Regions from separate parts of the Homo sapiens genome. Here all the other regions are linked to region 2. The links are contacts of gene promoters, found by promoter capture Hi-C in human tissues and cell types (Jung and others, 2019). All regions are on one chromosome and are shown on one strand. Each heading gives the region's core, a stretch centred on a gene start or on the middle of the fragment in contact. The rest is flanking DNA. Distances are from core to core; before and after follow the strand shown. Region 1 has its middle 52 kb from the start of MIR4308. Region 2 holds the start of ATG14 (autophagy related 14). Region 3 overlaps GCH1 (GTP cyclohydrolase 1).

Region 1 (3,423 bases), core at 111-2,610, 590 kb after region 2:
GAGTAGTGGCGATAGAGACCGAAGAGATAGGCAGAGGACATACCACAGACATGCCCTGCCCAAGAACTGATATTGAAGTTGCGAAAAGCTGGTGGAAAGATGTCAAGCAGGGGATTGTGGGTTGTAATCAGAGTTGGAGGATGGACAGCTTAGGAGGCTATTGTATTAATTCAGGGGGGATAATGAGGCTGAAACTAGGTCAGTGGCAGTGGAGGCTGAGACAAGGGAACAGCAGAGAGATTTAAGAGGGAGAAGCTGAAGGGTTTGTCTACAACTGGGTGAAGATTGGTCCAGGACAGTCCCCAGTTTGGGAGCTTGGGTGTCTGGGAATCACAGCAGCATTGACCACTGAGATAATGTTAATGAGATAAATGGTCATGTGGGAGGTCTTGGAGGGAGTAAGGTAAGCAGGGGAGCCTTCGGTTTCAGACATGTTGTTTGAGGTCCCTGTGGGACACCTAAGTGGAGACATCCAGTAATTAGCCAGTGCATAGGAGAGAGGTCTGGGCTGGAGGCAGGGATCTGAAAGTCAGCTGCAGACCAGTTAGTACACACATGGTGCTTGGAGCTGAGGTCAGCTAAGGAGAGAGTGAAGAGTGAGAAGATTGGAGAAAAGATAACTCTCCAAAGACCACCCACAATCAGAATTTGGGGAGCCATGAGAGATGGGTGTGCCCAATGTCAAGAGTGTTGTTTCCAGAAAGAGAATGTGGGTAAATCAAAGTGGATGTGTGTGCACATATGTACCTATGAGAATGTTTATTCTAGCATTGTTCATAATATTTAACAGTTGAAATAACTTACCTAACAACTGGAATAAATCATGGTATGTCCATGTGAAGGAATGAATACTACGCAGCCATTAAAATGCAAAAAAATACTCATGATTTATTAGTGAAAACACTTATTATTTAGAAAATATTTATTTAGCCACTACTTTTGTCAGGCACCATGTTAGGTGGTGCTTATTACAAAATTGTGTGTGTGTGTGTGTGTGTGTGTGTATACATTGTTTTATATATATATATAAAATAATTATATATAAAAAATAATTTATATATACATAATAAAACTATGTATGTATATAATAAAATTATATATATATATCAATGGCAACAGGCTGGGCATGGTGGCTCATACCTGTAATCCTAGCACTTTGGGAGGCCAAATCACTTGAGGTCAGGAGTTCAAAACCAGCCTGGCTAACATGGTGAAACCCCATCTCTACTAAAAATACAAAAAATTAGCTGGGCGTGGTGGCGGGTGCCTGTAATCCCAGCTACTCGGGAGGCTGAGGCAGGAGGATCACTTGAACCCAAGAGGTGGAAGTTGCAGTGAGCCAAGATTGTGCTACTGCACTCCAGCCTGGGCGACAGAGCAAGCCTCTGTCTCAAACAAACAAAGATCAATGGCAGCAAATAACATCAAAATGCATGAGCAATAGAAAATACTATTTTAGGCTAGGTGTGGTGGCTCACACTTGTAATCCCAGAACTTTGGGAGGCTGAGGTCGGGGGATCATGAGGTCAGGAGTTCGAGACCAGCCTGGCTAATACAGTGAAACCCCTTTTCTACTAAAAATACGAAAATTAGCTGGGCATGGTGGTGGGCGCCTGTAATCCCAGCTACTTGGGAGGCTGAGGCAGGAGAATCACTTGAACTCGAGAGGTGGAGGTTGCAGTGAGTCAAGATTGCGCCACTGCATTCCAGCCTGGGTGACAGAGCTAGACTCCATCTCAAAAAAAAAAAAAAAAAAAAAAAAGAAAAAGAAAAGAAAAGAAAACAAAAGAAAATTTATTATTTAATATTTATTTAGTAGTCATGTAAGTTTTCTTATTTGCCTTCTCTCTTTTTCAAATTCTATACAATGAGCTTGCATTATATTGGTAAGAAAACCCATCTAAGTAGGTAGGAAAATACCATAGAAATGCCATTGGATTTAGGAAATCATTAACCTGATAGTGCCAAAGCTACTGGAGGAATGAATGTTCCCATTCCATTTTTTGAGTAATATTTCTACTTCCTCTCGAAACCACAAGTTTAGACTTTTCCTTGAAGAAGACTGGCTACAAGAAATGCTTAAGAAGTCCTACACCTTCCTGGGTACCCCATGACCCACTCAAACAAAAATTGATTTAGTAAAGTAGATTTTCCTCCCTAATGTGGTTGGGCACCATCCAACTCATTGAGGGCCTGAATATAACAAAGATGAAAGGAGGAATTGCCTCTTTTGCTTCCTGAATGTGTGCTTATCCCTTATCCCTCAACTGGGATTTACATCTTCAGTGTTCAGGTCTTCAGACTCAGACTGAATTATATCACTGGCTCTCTAGGGTTTCTATTTTCCATATGGCAGATTATGGGACTTCTCAACCTCCATTATTGCATAAGCAATTCCTCATAATCAATCTCAGTCTCTCACTCTCTACACACACACACACACACACACACACACACATGAATGTGTATTACATGTATATGAGTGTGTGTGCATGCATATGTCATCCTGTTTCTCTGGAGAACTGGTACTAAAACAATATGATTTGATTCTTTTCTCTCTTTTGTAACTTCTATAGGTATTTCCTGGGGGCTTATCTAGAATATCTTAAGCTGATAACAACTTAAACTCAATTGCATACAAAAATCCTACACTTTTAATTCCTCTCCCACATTTCATGTTATTGCTGTTACAGTTTACATCTATTCATATCATGACTCCTTTAACATATTTTTAGTTATAGTTATTTTAAATATTTTTATCTTTTAACTTTTATGCTAGAATTAAAAGTGATATACTCCCCACCATTACAGTAATAAAGTATTCTGTATTTGTCTGTATATTTACTTTTACTAATGAGTTTTAAACTTTAATATAACACTGTGTTGCTGTTTAGCATTCTTTTGCTTTAACTTGAAGAATTCCCTTTAGCATTTCTTTTAAGGCGGGTCTAGCGGTGATGAACTCCATCAGCTTTTGTTTGTCTGGGAAAGTCTCTATCTCTCCTTCATTTCTGAAGAACAATTTTGCTGGGTATTCTTGATTGTCAGTATTTTCTTTTAGCCCCTTGAATATATCATCTCACTCCCTTCTGGCCTGCAATGTTTCTGTTAAAAATTCCACTGATAATCTTATAGAGGTTCCCTTATATGTGACAAGTCACTGTTTTCTTGCTGCTTTCAAAATTCTCCTTGTCTTTGGCTTTTGGCAATTCAATAATAACATACCTCAGTGTGAATTGCTTTGGATTCATCTTGCTTGGTGTCCTTTAGGCTTCTTGGACCTGCATGTCCATTTTCTTCCCCCAAGTTTGGAAAGTTTTCAGCCATTATTTTTTGAGTAATATTTCTGGTCCTTTCTCTCTCTTCTTCTGGGGCTTCCATAATGCATCCACTAGTCTGCTTGATAGTGTCCCATAAGTTCAG
Region 2 (3,550 bases), core at 282-2,781:
AGCTAGATACTATCTGTGATATCATCTAGCACGATAGGAATTAATGTGTATTTTTTGCCTTTTAAAATATTGAACAGTTGATCCTGATCATTAGGTATTAAGCACTGTGAAGGATCCTGTCTGAATACAAATGAAACATAAGCCCGAGACCTTAAAAAATAATCCTTTTGTTTGAAATGATCAGAGAGAAAGACTTCTCACTTAAAAATAAATCTTAAACTTTCAGGAACCATTCAAGTTTAGTGTAAACTGTATTCTGAATATAGAGAATTTTTGCTTTTGCTTGTTTTTGTAATCCTACGTGATTTGTATTTAAAAAGACTGGGTAAGATTAAGAAGACGGAGGAGCAAAGGGCTCAGATTCAAGACCTAATTAGCTTGTAGAATCACCAGTTTTCGATGGTGATGTGGAGATTAACAGGGAGGGACGGGCTAATATGAATCATGGCTCTTGGCTGTAAATCATCAGTGATTACGTCCTTTACCAAAGTAAGAAAACAGGTTTGTAGGGAGGCAGAAGTCAGTTTCCAACACTTTGAGTTTGTGGTGTCCTGGAATGTCACCTGATACCTAGTAAGTAGTTCTGGATCTTTGGGTATGGAACTTGAGAAAGGAATCCTGGCTAGAGAGAGAATTCAGGGCAGTTTATCAGTAGATAGCCTAGTAAAATCATCCTTGAGAATCACTGGTCTATTTAATCTCACCTATAAACTCACTTTTCTCTGTAGTTTAGAGGCATATTCAAACACTAATTACTCTGATATGATCCTCCCAACACATCACCTTATATATCCCCTATCCACCAAAAGAAACTTGAAGGGAAGTCCTAACCATCTACCTAGTTCAAATTCTCTTAGAGCATGGCCCAGGGTAGGGAAGGTACGTTAGCCACGTGATTAACTTTTCAGAAGGATACAATTCTGATTTTGCACGTTCACTTTGGTTGTTTTCACTATTGGTAAAGTATAATACTATTAACCATATTAATCCTCACGGCATTAGATGGGTACTATAATTCTATCCATTTAACACGAGAGAACAGGCGCAGAGAGATTAAGGAACTTGCCCCAAGTCACACAGCTATTAAGCAGGTGAGTGAGCCAAAATTCAACCTAGTTCCAAGACCCAGCCCCTTCACCCTACTTTGTTTGCTGTAGTTTAGCCAGATTTTAAAGCATCCACAGCAAGTTAAATTCCCTTATTCCGCTCCCATTCCGTTTTCCCAGAATCCTTAGGGTATGGTATTACAATTTTCTGCACAAGTTTGAGGCTTTAACTCGTAGTCTTGGCCTGAGCCAGCAGATGACATTTTGTTTGGCCGACTAGCCCCTCTAATATAACTCTCCCCCTGCTTCGGGACCTGTTGCCCCTCAGCAGACCGGAAAAACAACAGTGCCCGGGACAGGAACACGCGGCGGCGGAGGGGTCCGGGGGCTCGCCGGCATCCCAGCCCCCCTTCCCCAGGCCCCTCCTCCTGGCCCAGAATGCACCCGGTTGAAAACAAAATCCCACGTGACTGGCTCTCCTCTCAGGCCATCATGGCGTCTCCCAGTGGGAAGGGAGCCCGGGCGCTGGAGGCTCCTGGCTGCGGGCCCCGGCCGCTCGCCCGGGACCTGGTGGACTCCGTGGACGATGCGGAGGGGCTGTACGTGGCTGTGGAGCGCTGCCCGCTGTGCAACACTACCCGCCGGCGGCTGACCTGCGCCAAATGCGTTCAGAGCGGCGATTTCGTCTACTTCGACGGCCGCGACCGGGAGAGGTACGGCGGCCGCCACGGCCCTATTGTTTCTTCTGCTGTGTGTCCTCCAGCCAGGCAGCCGAAGGCTGGAACCTGGGGCTCCCCGTCCGGGCACCAGATACCAGCGAGAGGAGCGAGAGAGAGGGAGTGTAGCTAGCTGCTCTGCACCGGAGCTTTGCTACCAGAGGACAGCGTAGGGGCCAGATGAGGGAAGGTCGCCGTTTCCCCATCACCCACCCAAGAGGAGTTTGACCCCACGGTGCTCTTGGTCACTGGGGAAAAAAGGAATAAGTGGTGACTCTCTGGAGAAGTTTTCCCGTTGCTGCCATTAAGTTAGATTCCCAGCTCTTTGCTGTATGTACTCCCATTCAAAAGCTTGGCTTTCTATTTTCGAAAGCATATTTATACTCATTCTCTAGAGGAGAGAGTAGAAGAGAATCAAATAACTGCTTTAGAGGGATTTGGGCCTGGTAGTCTGTCACAGATGGACTTTGTTATCAGACATGCTTACTCTAATGTGTGAATTGAGGCTTGCTGTTAACGCCCCTTTCCCCTCCCTGCCTCTAAAGATTATTTTAGATTCTTAGGAATTTGGGAACGTGTTTTGGCCTTGTTTTAAAATTCAGATTGGGAGCTGCATGCTTTTAGTTAAGAGAATTGCCTTTAGGAAAATGTTTTGGTTTCATTTCGAAATCTAAACAGCTACAAGTTCTTGGTTAAGAAAATTGAAAAATTAGTGTGATTAGCTGCAGGATCTCCCACTCTCAACTTATGTTTCAACAATTTAGTGTCAATGATAGTCAATGATAGTAAGATAGCTAGCATTCTGAGCACAAAAATTCAGGTATTAATTCATTCGCAACAACCGAATGACTTATCCCCAACTTATTAGGAAGCTGCACAGTAAGTGCTTTGCCCCAGGTCACACAAATAGTTAAGTGTTGGTACAAGAATTAAAATTCAGACAGCTTGGACCTATGTACCCGCACTTAACCACTAGACTTTATATCCTCTATATTTGGGAATGTTTTGAGTTCTTAGTATTTCTGTGATCGTGGATGGAGTTCTTTCCTTTCTCTTTTGAGGAGGTTTGAATGACAAACTCTTTTTTAGTTTTGTTGCTGTGTCTTATTGGTGCTCTTGATGACTTTAGAAACTGCTTATGTAGTAAGTGATAGCTTTAAAAATTAAACCAGTTATAAGAATACGGGGTATGAGATGGAAATGTCTAACTGATGGAGTGAATCGAGGATTTGGTTCTGGACCTTCTTGTCTGTCTACACGTTTTACTATGTCTATTCACATAATTTAAATACCATCTATATGCTTAAGACTGCCAGACTTGTATCTCCAACCTAGTCTTCTCTAAAGTCCAGAAAACAGCTGCTTATTCAACATCAATATTTTTAGATTTGTAATAGATATCTTCATTTTAATATGGCAAACTGAACTCCTTGTTTTCCATCATAAATCTGTTTTCCCATGCTCATCCCAACCCAGTAAATGTCAATCTCATTGTTCCTTTGGTTCAGGCTAAAAAACCTTTCAGTTCTCCTTGACTCCTCTCTTAACCCAACTCTGTTTAGTCCCATCAACAAATCCCATCTACTCTTCAAAACTTATCTTACAACAAATCCCATCTACTCTTCAAAACTTATCTTAAATCTTACCCTTTCACCATCACCTGGTCCAATCTACCAGAGACATAAACTTATTTCCTCTTATGTCTCTGCTTCCGTCCTTGCTCCCCTTTTGTACAATTTCCATATTGCAGCCACAGTTATGCTACTCCTCCATTTCTGTTCAAATCTT
Region 3 (3,570 bases), core at 269-2,768, 520 kb after region 2:
TGTTAAAGGGGAAACAAAGATGATTGTTGGCCTGATCTTGGCCTTCAAGGAGTAAAGGGGTTCTGTGTAGTCAGAGGGAAGCTGGGTGCTTCTGGTGGAGAGACAGGAAAGTCCAGATGTTATGGAGAAAGTAGCTTTTGAGTTGAACCTAGAAGGAAATTCATTTTGAGTTTTTTTGGGTTGTTTGTTTTTTGCAGAACGTGTCCATGCTGGTTTAGAGATTATGGTCTAAGTGTTTTTCAATAAAAGGCATACACTAACATTCATAGTTACCTGTACCAGAGTTAAAATTAAATGGAGTTTTCAAGGCAATTAGATTTATTTTAAACTTTTAAAAGATCAATATTAATGGCATTAGGGCCAGCTCCTTTATCTGATGTCTTTAAAGTTCATTCTGGCCATAGTCAACCCTTGTAATGAATTTTAACCTGACACATGTTGCTACTTCATCTAGTCTTTGTAACCTGGTTATTTATTTATTTTTTGAGATGGAGTTTTGCTCTTGTTGCCCAGGCTGGAGTGCAATGGCGCGATCTCGTCTCACCGCAACCTCCACCTCCCAGGTTCAAGCGATTCTCCTGCCTCAGCCTTCCCAAGTAGCTGGGATTATAGGCATGCGCCACCAAGCCTGGCTAATTTTGTGTTTTTAATAGAGATGGGGTTTCTCCGTGTGGGTCAGGCTGGTCTCGAACTCCTGACCTCAGGTGATCCGCCCACCTCGGCCTCCCAAAGTGCTGGGATTACAGGCGTAAGCCACCGCTCCCGGCCTGGTTATTTGTTTTATCTGCAATTATTCTTTCTCGTGAATCCCCTTGGCTAATCATGCTCACAAAGTTCTGACACATATACCACCTGAATATTTCTAGAATCTGAGTCATCTTTCACTTAAATTACAATAACCTCTTAACTGGCCTTCTTGCCTCCTAGCTTGTCCTGCTCTGATCCATTCATGCCAAAGTGATTTTTCTAAAATTGAATAAGTTTTTTCCTTGCAAAAAACACTTGATTGATTTTCTGTTGTCTTTCCTCACCATTGCTGTGAGGTTTTGTTCTGTTGTAGCCTCTTGCTACATTTTTTGGCATTTTTTTCTTATCTTCCATCGCATTTCCTCATATAGGGCAATTTAGTATTTTAGTTTAGTGCATAGTTTAGTGCACAGTTAATCTGAGAAACCACTCTGTCTCATTTCCTTGCTGGAGCTGGAGACCCAGGTGAAGATCCTGAGGTTTGTTCTTTTGCAATGTTTGGCCTTTATTATCTGCCCTCCTCCTGTAATTTATTTTACTGTCCTTTTTGTTTTTGGTTGGCAACCATGGGGAGGTGGCTGCTGCCTCTTGCTTATCAACAACTGTTGCTTATGGAGACTTCTGTGAACAAGCAGCCAGGTTTAGGTGAGGAAATTGGCCGTGACTGAATTCTGGGTGAATTTTTCGAGGTCCAGTTGGTCCAAATGTTTGTGATGTGCAGTCCTAAGAGGCCATGGCTCTTCCTGTGAAGTGTGATGTGTTTTATGTATCACACATTAGTTTTTATTTGTCCTAAGCAGGAATCAGAACTCAGTTCAATAGAGGCCATTGGCAAACATCCCAAACAAGGAATCTCTCACTAAAATAGCTTAAAATATAATTTTACCTGTGTGGTCTAGGCATTTGTGGTACAGTGTTCGTTAGCAGTGAGGAAGGGCTATGCGTGCCTGGAGATCAGATGAGAGGCCTTAACTCAGTGAGGTCGCTGACTAGTTGACTTTAAGGCATAGCTGCTGTAGATCATACCCCTCTAATTGACCCCACCATTTATCGTTTATCACATGGGCAGCCCTGGAGGTATGCCTCTCTGATGGCCTATCAAAAAGAATCTGCCCTTCAGCTTCAAGGAACAGTTTGCTGACAGCCTCCAGCTGTTAGTGCTGTCAGGCTTTGCCTCCACGGAGGCCATACTTATCCCATGCTGCGTGTCCTTTCATTTTGGTGTCATCTCTTTCTCCCCTTCTACCCCTCCTCCACCACAGTAAACAGCTTTTTGAGGGCTGGGGCTGTTTATAAGTGAAGTAGTTTATAAAAAGTAGATGCACATCTTTCAGCTTCATATTTAGCATGTTGGAAATTCTGTTCACTGATCTAATTCTGAAATCTCCTTGGTATTTCTTAAACTAGTTGTATAGGCTGGGTGCAGTGGCTCATGCCTGTAATCCCAGCACTTTGGGAGGCTGAGGTGGGCAGATCACCAGGTCAGGAGATCGAGACCATCTTGGCTAACACGCTGAAACCCTGTCTCTACTAAAAATACAAAAAAAAAAAAAAAAATTAGCCGGGCGTGGTTGTGGGCGCCTGTAGTCCCAGCTACTCGGGAGGCTGAGGCAGGTGAATGGTGTGAACCCGGGAGGCAGAGCTTGCAGTGAGCGGAGATCATGCCACTGCACTCCAGCCTGGGCGACAGAGTGAGACTCCATCTCAAAAAAAAAAAAAACTAGTATGTCAACAAAGCTTTGTGCTGCTGTAATGGGAAGAACAGCTAGCCTGGGCTAGTAATATGCTAACTGGTTTATGAACTTAGGTAGGTGAGTCACTTGACTATTCTGGGTCTGTTCTGAAGGGAGAGGCAGTAGGACTAGGAGTTAAATTGTCATGCCGAGGTCTCTGAGCATGGGTGGGCCTGTCAGAATTGTCATCGCTCACTCTGTTGACTTCCAGCAGCTGACAGGCAAGGCCCTAGGAAGCTCTTCAGCCTCCTTTCCTTGCTAGAGGTGCTGTTTTCCCTGGAAATGTTCAAGCCCTGCAAATCGTTTCTATAGTAACAGGTCTCTGTCTTTTTTCTTATGATGCAGATTTTTGAAAAGGTTTCTTATCTAAATGTTCTTGGGATCTATGGTCTTCCTACCTGTAGCTCCTTTGATTAGACAGAGCCTTTATTTAAAGACTTTTCCCCCCAAGAATGTTGTTGTTGCTTCTACCAAAATAATAACCAGTTGTTAGTTTTACTAGTGCTTGAAGTTTTAGTTTATTAATAAAGCTTCATATAAACTAGAAAAGGAGTGGTTGGGTAGAATAGTAATACCGAAAAAACTAATATTCACTGTTAGTCTCATGTATTTGTAAACTTTAATTTTTTATTATGTAAAACCTTCAAACATAAAAGTAGTCAAAATTATATAATAGACACCTATATACTTACCACCTAGATTGAAAACTAACATTCTGCCATATTGGCGTAGTTTATTCGTTTACTGATAGTAAATCAGAGACATGTATTTAGAGGTGAAATGTCACCCTAAAAAGCGTTTTTCTTAATGATTTACACCACCCTTAGTAAAATTAGCTATTCATTCCTTCATATCATCTAATACCTAATATATATTCACATTTCCTCAGGTGTCTCAAATGTCTTTTACTAATGATTTTTTCCAACAAGGATCCACTCAAGGTCCATACATTTGCATTTGATTATTACGTTTTAATCTGGAATAGCGCCTACCGCCCCCAACCCCTGCCACTGCTTTATCAGAGAGGTCAGTTGTCCTGTAAGATACTCTACCTTTATGATTTGTATGATTTTTGTTTGTTTGTTTTCAT

What was found. The method cuts DNA at HindIII sites, captures the fragments that hold promoters and counts their contacts. A contact is called where the count stands out against the background at its distance.
Region 1: a fragment that was not itself captured here is called in contact with the fragment with the promoter of ATG14 in region 2 in 1 of the 25 tissues and cell types used here (lymphoblastoid cells).
Region 3: a contact is called between a fragment that was not itself captured here and the fragment with the promoter of ATG14 in region 2, in 1 of the 25 tissues and cell types used here (spleen).

What each region holds. Positions count from the first base shown.
Region 1 is chr14:54,824,062-54,827,484 of GRCh38, reverse strand. No RefSeq gene overlaps it. Among named protein-coding and RNA genes, the nearest start is that of MIR4308, 52 kb to the left of the region's middle. The HindIII fragment of the contact is 5,372 bases long and covers 1-3,423 here.
Region 2 is chr14:55,409,811-55,413,360 of GRCh38, reverse strand. ATG14 (autophagy related 14) reads left to right here and starts at 1,531. Exons shown (of 10, transcript NM_014924.5): 1 at 1,531-1,759. The coding sequence starts at 1,539. It also overlaps a transcript of FBXO34 not described here. RefSeq lists a silencer at 1,242-1,541. The HindIII fragment of the contact is 14,251 bases long and covers 1-3,550 here.
Region 3 is chr14:54,887,414-54,890,983 of GRCh38, reverse strand. The region is part of intron 1 of GCH1 (GTP cyclohydrolase 1); the gene reads left to right. Among named protein-coding and RNA genes, the nearest start is that of MIR4308, 11 kb to the right of the region's middle. RefSeq lists an enhancer at 21-270. The HindIII fragment of the contact is 7,404 bases long and covers 1-3,570 here.